Regions from separate parts of the Homo sapiens genome. Here regions 1, 2 and 3 are each linked to region 4. Evidence: promoter capture Hi-C in 16 types of primary human blood cells and fetal thymus (Javierre and others, 2016). All regions are on one chromosome and are shown on one strand. Each heading gives the region's core, a stretch centred on a gene start or on the middle of the fragment in contact. The rest is flanking DNA. Distances are from core to core; before and after follow the strand shown.

Region 1 (2,811 bases), core at 158-2,657, 170 kb after region 4:
ATGTAAATGACGAGTTAACGGGTGCAGCAAACGAACACAGCACATGTATACATATGTAACAAACCTACATGTTGTGCACATGTACCCTAGAACTTAAAGTATAATTTAAAAAAATGAAAGTGGGACTGAGGAGGTTCAGAAGTCAGTTATGGAGTTGAACGGTTTGTCTGCAGAGTCTAAGTCTTCTCCATGGATACCAGAAACTGGGATGAAGTAGAAAGCTTATCCAGGTAGAAAAATCCTCAATGATGTTCTTCCATAAGTTTCAACATGTCTTTAAGTAAGGAGGAATAAAAGGGTGACATTTGCAGCTAATGCCATATGGTCATGAGCTTTTGACAAAAGATGGAAGAACAAAACTCTGGAAACAGTAATAAGTAACCCCAAACTTATCTGTTTTGTATTGAGGTGCATGAGACAGAGATTGACCACCATTGAGGGCTAAGAGTAAGTACTGTTCTTGATTAAAAAGCTCCCCCTTCCCCCACTGTTGTAGTTTTGGAATGTTTGACATTTTATAAGTATTTATGGAAGAGTTCCAGAAAGTTGAGAACACAGTACACGCAATGTAAGGAAGATGTAGAATTTGAACCTAGGGCACACAAACCCAAAACTTTTGCTTTTAACCACTGTGGAAATCTTAGGCAAATTGCTTAGACTGTACTTCACATCTCTGATCTGAGAAGTGGAGATTAAAGAAGTTCACATCTCATTAAAAATTAGCTGGGTGTGGTGGCATGTTCCTCTGGTCCCAGCTGCTTAGGAGGATGAGCTTCAGCCCAGGAGGTTGGGGCTGTGGTGAGCTATGTTCGTGCTGCTGCACTCCAGCCTGGGCAGCAAAGTGAGGCCCTGTTTCAAAAACAGTTGTTCTCTCATAGGGTTGTTCCTGCAGAAGGTAAACTCACAAAAGCAATCAGACATTACATAAAGAAGACATTTGTATATACGTTTATAGCAGCCCAATTCACAATTGCAAAAATGTGGGACCAGCCTACATGTCCATCAGCCAACAAGTAGATAGAGAAAATTGGTGCGTATACATACATAATATGGGATACAACTCAGCCAGAAAAAGGAGTGAAATAATGGCATTTGCAGCAACCTGAATAAAGTTGGAGACCCTTGTTCTCAGTGACAGTAATTCAGGAATGAAAAACCAAATATTGTATGTCCTCACTTATAAGTGGGAGCTAAGCTATGAGGATGCAAAGTCATAAGGATGATATAATGGACTTTGGGGACTCCGTGAGGAAGGATGGGAGGGAGTGAGGAATAGAAGGCTACACACTGGGTCCAGCATTTACTGCTTAGGTGACAGGTGCACCAAGTCTCAGAAATCACCACTAACCCATGTAACCAAAACCCCCCGCTTTCCAAAAATTATTGAAATAAAATAAATGAGACTTAGGAATGGAGATCGGGGTGAAAAAGGAAGTCTAAAGATTTAGGCATAACTTGGTCAAAGACAAATCTTGTAAGTGTCAGAACTGGCACTGGGGCTGTGGTCTATACTCAACCATGGCAGTATACCACTTCTGTCATGGACAAGAATGAGCTCAAGTTTGATCTCAGAGCCAGAATCCTGGATGTACTTCTTGTGAGGCTGGGAAGGTGGCTTTAAGAAAAATGCTTTCCCTATTATAGCATCAGTATTCCCATTTGAGGGAAATTCGCAGGCTTCAGAGATGTATATAAGTCCCTCAGTTGGTATTTATATCTCCATGTACTCCAATTAAGCATCTGGGCTAACAAGTTTAGAATTTTATTCTAGAATTGAACATGAACAATGTTTATTTCAGAGAAATTATAACACTGAACTGATAAAGTTATAGACTGAGAGTCCAATATTCAATATTCAACTTGTTGTTGTTGGTATTGTGTTGGTCTGACTTTTCATCTTTGATTGACCCACATATGGGAGACCTAGCTATAAAATAGGATTGAATGGGAAAATCTGAGTAGTTGCATTCAAATGAAGGTTTAAGATATTTAACGACACCAAGCTCTATGTTTGTGTTGCAGAGCCCCGTCAGCCAGTGGCATAATCTCATTTGGGGGCCAGGGTGCCCTCTCCTGGACAGTGTTAGAATGGGGACAGTGTTAGAATGTCAATGTTTGCTTCTGATTCAGATCTGTTTCCAAGACTGAATATGTATCTCTTCTGTGTAACTTAAGATATTTTCCTATAGTGAAAGGTAACACTTTTTCCTGCACATCTGAGGCATATCTCCCTTAAGTTGGAACAATGAGGTTTTGAAAGTTTGTGCATCAAATTAAGGGATGAGGACTTACTGTAACCTTAAGGATAATTCAACAAGTACGTTGGTTTATTGGCTACTTTTAGTTTTCAAATGTTGTACAAGGCATCCAGATACAGAATAGACAGATACTAAGTTTGTCAAAGCAGAGTTTATCCACTGGAGGTGGTAAATGCTAGATATGAATCTGGATATGAATTTCAAAATCTAGATATGAATCTGTATAGACTGACAGCCAAATAAAAAAGTAGGACTAAGGGTACAGCATACATGCAGGATAGAAGGATCCTGTATATTTTGGCCACTACCAGCAATTTCACACAGAATGTAAAATGTAAGCTTGGGGAGCAGGTTGCAAGCTTCTGGAAGTTCCCAGCTTCTCCCGAGGTTCTATAGAGTTAGAACCCTCTGAAAGGGGAGTGGAAGTGAAAATGAGATCCTTCACATAATGATTCTACTGCATTAGCCCCCTTCCCTGACTATATTAGCTCCTAGCCTGAAAGAGAAGGTCAGGTTGTATCTCCCAGGCTTAGAGCTAGCCCTTCCTGAAGAC
Region 2 (2,831 bases), core at 295-2,794, 140 kb after region 4:
TCTTACAGGAAGATGCTCGTTCCAACTCATCATTGCTAGTAATATAATTGGACACTTGGGCTAATGTCGATTTGTTCCATGTGAACTTACTTTCTCTAGTTGCTGAAGACAAAAGTAGTCAACCATATTTCCTGAAAAAGAGATTAGTCTATTTTAAAACACTGAAGACATAATACTGGTTTGTGTTGGTCAGGCAGTATTTCCAGAAGGTCATATCCCTCAGATTTAGGCTTTTATTCTCAGATTTTCTGCAGAGGCATTTCTCAGGGCCAATACCTGAACTTCTAGAGTACAGCCAGAGAAGGCCCTGACAGCCAGGGCCTCTTACTAAGCCTCTCTAGCAGGACAGAGGCTACTCTGCCATGAATATAACTTTGAGGTTTGCAAATGATAGGGAGGAAAAAATGTTTCTCTAAAAGCCTCCATTCTGACTGACCAAGTATTCAGGAATGGCAGGACAGTGCATAATTTATGAAGAATGGTCACATTAAACTATGGAGACAAAGACGAATATCCCAAATAATTCCCTAGGGAATTATTTTCATTTCTTCTGTGACCACTTCTACTCTGTCTGCAAATTCTGGACTCACCATTTACCTCAGGGAGATGTCAAATCAGGTCAGAGAACAAATACATCCAATTCTTATCTTTTCAGTTCAAAAGTCTTGATCACAAAATATAGAAAAGAGTTCTATAAGGATCTAAAGTGGTAGAATAGGTTTTTCTTCCTGGCTTCAGATTAGGTTAAGCACAAAAGATCCTCTGGTGCCTGGCAGTAGAGGAGACATTCGTTGGGATCAGCACACCCCCAACACCCTCAAGCTGAGGCTCCCAAGACTCCCAGTGCTGTGGGGTGAATTCTGAGCGCTCCTGGGGCACAGCGAGATGAGGAACTTGGCTAAGAGCAACAATGATCATACTGGCTAGTTTGCACAGAGTCCTGCAGTCACGATGAAGGATGGGTTCCAGACAGATGTGGACCAGCTGGTCTCTTCCAGGATCCTACGACTGATTTCAGTGGATCAACAATACCAGAAAATCCAGGAGGGTCAGTGCCCACAGGTCATGATGTGAGGCAGCACCATATGTTACAGAACAAGACACATCTGGCTTGAAGGCCAGACAGGGAACAGCAAGCAGAAGGCATTCCTCTTTCATGTGACTTCCATTGTGACAATTCTGTAAAAGGCCATTTCATCCTCTACTGCAGTTTTAAATCTAACACATGAAGGTGATAGAAAAACTCCTGGGGGTGTTTTGAAAATTGTATCAGAATGAATTATGAACTAGAATCAACTAAGATCAATGTTAATTGGATTTGGTAGAATGTGGCTGTTGTCTATGACTCATTTTATGTTTATTCAAAGACCCATTCTGGCTGATGTAGAAAAAGCTGAAGGCAATTATAGTTTTACATAACTGGATCTGTGACTAAGTTTTATGCTTGTTATACAAGGAATTATCTAGAGGTATTTTGTTTTTTACCAACACAGAGCTGATTAGGTGGGTGTAACTCTAGTTGAAAAGCCTCAGAGGTACATGAGTGGGTGCCGGGCAGTCAAGGGGAGCAGAGAAAAGCTGGCTCTGTTTATACAACTTTCTGCAGAGAAGCAAATGGAGGGAGCTTTCTAAAGCCAAAACCAGTACATTCATAAGTCATTATGAGAACATTCTCTGGCCTTTCCTGGAATTTGTTCTAGTTACTCTTCTCACATTATCACCACCTCCAACCCCCCAGAGCCTTTTAGTGTATGGTAAGTATTAAGAGGCATGTTTTTATTCTTTGTGTGCCAGGCACTAGAGAAGCATTTTACGTTATCACATCCTTATAAAATATCTGTAAGGGGCTGCCATTAGTTTCATTTCAAGAGGAAACTGAGGTTTACATTATACAACATGTCTGGTCTGACAGATACTGTTTCAGATCCATCTCTGTCTTTGATTTCAGAGCAGAGGTTCTTAGCCACCTGTTAAGAACATAAAATCACAATAATGCCTCCTCTCTCAAGTGTCTCCCAATCTTTGCTTTTTTCCGTGAAAACCTGCAGACTCAAAAGGGGTTGACGGTAGTGTATTTTATTTCCACTTTAAGTCTTAGTGATGGGAAAGAAACATTTGTGTGACAGGGAAATGTGACATTGGCTTTGAATAAGAGATTCAATTGTTGGGCTTGTCTCATTTTTATAATATGCATTCTCCAGTGTATGTTCCCTTCCATCCTGTTTGGAGATAACCCCTTCACCAGGAAGTGGCCTACCCATGACTACTGCTGACAGTGGGACTAAATGCTGTAATGTACTTCAGGTCATACCCCAAGTATGATAGAACTTGTCATGAGTGTTTGTCCCTGGATAGACTAGTAGCATACATACAAGTGATATTTTCTTTATCTGCTATCATTCAACACCATGTGAAGACACTGGAAATGATTGGTATTTGGTCCTGGTCTGTGATAGACCCAGCAGATGATCCAGGGAAAAATACTTTGATATGGGTTTTCTAAGGTTATTCTTTCAGGAAGTTTTTAGTATAATACTAATCCTACTAGTTTTAATTAAGGGCAGGTTTTAAGAGCCCCGCACTATATGCACACTCTGCTTTACATGGTATAAAAAGATTTTAGGCATTATGCCAAAGAGATCTCCTGTGAGAAAAGGTCCTGGTCACTTTCCTCAGCACTGGTGCTACTGTTGGACTTGAGTATCATCTTCTCCAATGCCTGGACTTACGATTAGGAGATCATCTGTAAAATAAGTTTCGGCCCAGACTTCTATTTGGAGTTGAGGAAAAGATACTAATCAGTAGATTACATTTGGCACTAAAATTATGTT
Region 3 (2,700 bases), core at 177-2,676, 150 kb before region 4:
CCATTGTATTTATATTTTCGAATTATGTATAAGAATAATACGTATTTGTTACTTTATGATCTTGTAATATTTAGATAATTTGGCATATTATAGTACCTACCAGATATAGTGCTTAACAGATTTCAACTTTTATTTATGTATTTTTAAAAATAGAGTTGGGGGTCTCACTGTTGCCCAGCCTAATCAAGAACTCCTGGGCTCAAGTGATCTTGCCTCGGCCTTCCAACGTGCTAGGATTATAGGAGTGAGCCACCATGCCTGACGTCAACTTTTAAATGTGCATATAAATAATTACCAAGAAGTAATTTTAAATTGAAATGTGTAATAATATTTCAGCAAGTTATGTTAACAACATGTATGAGAACCTCACATCCACTATAATTCTAAATTTATTTTATTAGATTATAAGAACTAGTTAGAAACTTATTAAAACATTTTTAAAATGAAAATCAATCTCTATATTTAAGGAAATCAAAACTGTAATTATTTATAAACACTTTGAATTTTTTATGAAGACTTATTAACTAGGTTGTAATGGCTACTTAAAAATGACCGGTAACATTTTTTAGAAAGTTTTAAAAACTGAACTTAAAATATAAGAAATAATAAGATTTTTAAGTATATTTTATTTCTGAGTCAACTGTTGACTTTAAAAAGGGCCGACAACCGTGCAGTGCAGCTTTCTGTAAGAACCTCAATGAACACACATGAGAAAATGTAGCTTAAAAAAAGGTTCACTTTTTAAAGGACATTACTGATGTCCTAAAATATACTAGGTATATATTGTTGCTTGGGTGTTTGAAGTTGTTTGGATGAAATAAACTTGGGTTCAGTCACAGAATACAAGATTGTCTACTGATTTCAGATGATAATGTGTCTGGAGAAGATGAGCCTTCTCAAAGGCAATTGCAGAAAGACAAGATAATTTTGAGGGCAACATTTTTTTTTTCTAGGATGGACGAAAACGGAAAAAAAGTAGTAACAATGAAAAAGATGTTTATAACATTTAAAAAACCCTCAAAACTGACTATAAAGGAAAACCATTTTAACAAAAGCTAAAACTACATGCATTTCAAACTTATGCAGTGTATTTAAGTCACACTGGCCCCTTAGATGTCCCTACAAGCGCTGCAGACGTCGGGGAGGCCTGTGGAGTGACCGGTCCTCACCTCCTCCGGCTCTCAGTGCCCCATCTGCCAGCTGTCACAGTGCTGGTACACTCTAACAAGACCTCCCTGGGGCTCAGGGATAAACAGAGAGAAACACAGTAATACTATGATACTAGAAATACTGGCTTTTAAAGTATGGTACTGTTTATTATCTTACGACAGGAAGTCCTGTCGTATCTGAGATATGGCTCTGAAAGAATTCTTGGTCTAGGTATTTCCCATCTCTAGAGGGCGGTGATATATTTGAAGCAATCACTTAATTACAAGAGCTCTCTCCTCCTGTACCCTGCCACATTTATTGTCAATAACTCAGAATTTCCTAAGTGATAAGGGATGGCTCTCTGTGTCTTCTGACCCCTCAGAGAGCTCACAGTGGTGTCTTTGGATGCCTGCATCCTGTCCTGCCTCCTCCCCGCCTTACCGTGGGGCTCACACAGTCAATGGCCATAGAAGAGCCACTGCAGTCCCACCTGGATTCATAGCACCAGGAAAGGAGCAGGCCTCTTTCAGCCAGCCAAAGAAACACTTACCCCTTATTAGGGAAGCTGCACAACAGACTAAAACCGGATCCAGGAAACAGTGGACAGGGGACTCAGGTGGGTGTGGAGTGTGCGCCTCACTCCCCAGGAAAGCAGCGCTAGGGCCCTTTCCCTCAGAACTCTGTGGCGTGCATTGCTTCTGGCCAAGGAGGGGAAAGTTCTTTCTGGCTCTCCTCAAAGTCTTATTACAGACCTTCCTGGAATTGCTTATACATCTTCTTGGCCCCTTTCAGCTTCACTCTGGTGATACCAGTAGGTCACTGACCCAGAACATGGCCCCTGAACTCTGGTCTTGAGGTGGTGGTGGTGGCGATGGGCTTTTTGGGGTCAACTGACTTTTACTTCCTTCCAGGCAAGGTCACTGAACATGTGAAAATATGCTGGCTTTCCACCTAGTGAGGAGCTACATTATCTCTGAGTGAGAGCAGGACATTTCACCTTTGAAATGGCAAGTGGAAAGAACAGGTGGAGGTAATCAAGGACACACACACACACACACACACACACACACACACACACACACACAGGCTAATGAGGAACAGGAGGAAAAGGGATGGTGGGCAAACAGTGGAGGGAAGTGAAGGGGTGGGTGATGAGGAGGTGAAAGGAAAAAAAGGATCTAAAGGGAAAACTAGAACTGAAAGAAGGCAGGATGCAAAGGGAGAACAGCAGAGGGTGGTTGCCGCAAACACAAATCCTTCCCACACTTACCACACACACAGGCCTTTCTCTGCATTTGCTTCCCCAAGCTCTTCATGGTCATCTTCTTCCTGTGGCTGAGGGCCTTGTCCCAGGTCTTCATCACCTCGCCCCAGGGTATCTGGGAGGACCTCTCCATGGATGGGTCCTTCAGGAGGAACCTGAGTTTCTTCTCTATGTCAGCTCCTCCAGATTCTGTAGCAGTGGCTCACACAGGTGCTTTGGCCATGCCTTTCCAAGGTTGGCCATAGGCACTAGAGTCTAGAGGGAACAGAAGAAACAGCAGAATGATT
Region 4 (2,700 bases), core at 36-2,535:
TCTGAAAAATCAATCTATTCTCTCTCAGGCTCTGTGCAGGAGGTAGTTTGTTCAGTCAAACATTGCATTGCTTTCCTAGGTTGTTTAAAAAATGGAAGAATAAGCCCTGTAACTTCCCAGTTGACCTTGCTCCAGACATCGTACTCACTGAGTTATTTCCTACGGTATCAGCTGACCTCTCCCATCTACCACTTTCATACCCACTTACCAGATAGCTAGAGATTCTGAAAACTCAGTTCTTAAACCAAAGTTATTTCTGTTTTATAAACAAAAACTGAACCACCTGTTCCTGGATTTGCTTGGTTTTGATCCCATAAATAATGGGATTCAGCATAGGTGGAGCCAGAATGCAGACATTAGCCAACGGGATGTGGATACAAGGTGGAATGTGGCGTCCAAACCTCTGGGTAAGGATTGTGAAGATGCCAGACCCATAAAAGAGGATGATGATGCAGACATGGGAGCCAAATGTGTTGAGAGCTTTGTGGCAAGCATCTGGAGAAGGCATGTGGAAGACAGCATGGAGAATCAGCATATAGGAAATAAAAATTAGTACAACATCTAAGACCACCGTCGACATTAGAATGGAAAACCCATACCAAATGTTTATTCGAATGTCATTACATGCATATTTGGCTAGGCCAATGTGTTCACAAAAGGTGTGTGGAATAATATTATTCTGGCAGAAAGTCAATCTTTTTAAAAGAAATATGATAGGGAAAATTGTACCATAACTTCTCAGAGAGACAGTCACACAAATTTTCTTGATCAGAGCATTTGTAAGAATGGTGGTGTACCTCAGTGGGTAGCATATGGCAATATAGTGGTCAAAGGCCATCACCAGCAAGATCCCTGACTCAGAGATGAAGGTGGAATGGATGAAGAAGAGCTGAGTGATGCAACGATCCAGGGAGATGTCCCCAGCACGGAACCAGAAGATAGCTAAGGCCTGAGGAATGGTGCACGTGGAGAGGACAATGTCTGCTCCAGCCAGCATGCAGAGGAAGAGGTACATGGGTTCATGGAGGCTGCGCTTTGTGAGGATAATGAAGATGAGCAGGCTGTTCCCAAGAAGGGCGGTGACATAGGAAATGAAGAATGGGATAGAAATCCACATGTGCTGGTCCTGTAGGCCAGGGATGCCCAGCAAGTGGAAGACTGTGTGGCTAGTGCCACTGTGGTTTACAGTAGGCATAGCTGGGGAGAACTTTCAGAACCTCACCTCCTACTCACAGAGGTAGAAGAAGATAAAATCTGCAACATTCTTTGCGATGTCACCAGGAGCTTATGGCATATTCCATAATCTTCGTCTTCTTTGAACATGTAAATAACAAACATGCAAATATGAAAGGTGGTGGTCTATACTCTAATGAATGACAGCCAGACAATATCTCCAAGTAATCAGAATAAGAGACATTATTGTATGCGCTTTAATTATGAATGGAGGATTATGAATATACAGAGGAAATTATTATTTCTGTGTGGGAAAGCTGAATAAGGTGATACTTAAAATTGAGTAGTTTATCGTAAAGTTAATAATGAAGAGAGAAAGAAAGTAGCATAAGAAAAGGTGAGTGTACAGATCAATGCACAGTATGTTTCTGAAATATTTTCAGGCCAGGGTGGCTGGTGCATAAGGAGTACTGAGGAGAACAAGGGAGGTGATGGTATAGGCAGGTTTTTCCTGAATGTGAAGGGCTTCGATCACAACTTCACTCTTAGGCCCCATCCTTTACACAGGGGCAGTCATTAGTTTAGAAAGATGATCTGTTGATATTTGTTGGAACGTTGATTGATTGAAGACACTAAAGCCTAAAAGGCCAGTGGTGTTCCAGGAGTGGACAAAATCTTATTGTATTACAGTCGCAGGAGAATTTAGCTAATGTTTATTAAGCATCACTTTATGCCACGGGCTGTAGTTTGCACTTTGTACGTTCTTAATGCAGGGAGTAGACATCCACTCTTAGAACTGGATAGTACCCCTATTTCACACTTAAGGAAAGTGAGTCTTAGACAATGTGAATAACTTGCCACTTGTCACAAAGCAGCAATTGATAGAAATGAGATTTGAAACCTCTGACTTCACCACATACAGTTTGCTCACTTATGAAGAGGGTCAAGGTACCTCTTTATCTGAGATGAGGCACTCTTTGTGCTCACACCCCAGGGAACTAGGCTTAGAAGTGACTGAAATTAGGTAAAGAGTTATTTCTGGGGGATGAAGAGGGGTTGCAGTTCTTGATATTTGAGAAATTCTTCTGCTGGTAGAAATGAACATGTAACTTCATCATTTACTTCCTAGAATATTCTTCTTCACTCATTAGTGGATTCATTCACAGGCATATTTTGAGCATTGACTATTTTTTCCTGCATCATGCTATGTGCCTGAGTCCTAAATAGCTTTATGGTTTCAGAGAATGGTGGGCTTGTGAGTAAATAGATTTACTAAATGTTCCATGTGGAATGGCTTCAGAGAGTGCCTTCTGAGAAGACAGCCATATTGAATCCCATTTTCAATGGAATGAAGAAATGGCAACAAATAATAAAATACACTCTTCATGGGGTTTCTGAGGATATTAAATAAAGGAATATCTTAAAATATTTAGTTGTTGGCTAAGATATATCTTATGATCAGTAATATTTTTTCTTCCATTCTAGTTCACACTCTTGGTGCATCCTCTTCTTTCTGGGGAGGATAAT

The links. The method cuts DNA at HindIII sites, captures the fragments that hold promoters and counts their contacts. A CHiCAGO score of 5 or more calls a contact.
Region 1: a fragment that was not itself captured here is called in contact with the fragment with the promoter of OR52B4 in region 4 in 2 of 17 cell types (monocytes and M2 macrophages); the score reaches 6.3 in monocytes.
Region 2: a contact is called between a fragment that was not itself captured here and the fragment with the promoter of OR52B4 in region 4, in 5 of 17 cell types (monocytes, neutrophils, M2 macrophages and 2 more). The highest score is 8.6, in monocytes.
Region 3: a contact is called between a fragment that was not itself captured here and the fragment with the promoter of OR52B4 in region 4, in 4 of 17 cell types (monocytes, M2 macrophages, M0 macrophages and 1 more). The highest score is 6.3, in monocytes.

Annotation. Positions count from the first base shown.
Region 1 is chr11:4,537,745-4,540,555 of GRCh38, forward strand. No RefSeq gene overlaps it. Among named protein-coding and RNA genes, the nearest start is that of OR52M1, 6.0 kb to the right of the region's middle. The HindIII fragment of the contact is 2,376 bases long and covers 220-2,595 here.
Region 2 is chr11:4,510,490-4,513,320 of GRCh38, forward strand. No RefSeq gene overlaps it. Among named protein-coding and RNA genes, the nearest start is that of OR52K1, 29 kb to the left of the region's middle. The HindIII fragment of the contact is 4,695 bases long and covers 1-2,831 here.
Region 3 is chr11:4,212,597-4,215,296 of GRCh38, forward strand. No RefSeq gene overlaps it. Among named protein-coding and RNA genes, the nearest start is that of SSU72L5, 19 kb to the right of the region's middle. The HindIII fragment of the contact is 2,918 bases long and covers 1-2,700 here.
Region 4 is chr11:4,367,101-4,369,800 of GRCh38, forward strand. It overlaps OR52B4 (olfactory receptor family 52 subfamily B member 4), which reads right to left and starts at 1,286. Exons shown (of 1, transcript NM_001005161.3): 1 at 163-1,286. The coding sequence starts at 1,195. The coding sequence ends at 251. The HindIII fragment of the contact is 6,509 bases long and covers 1-2,700 here.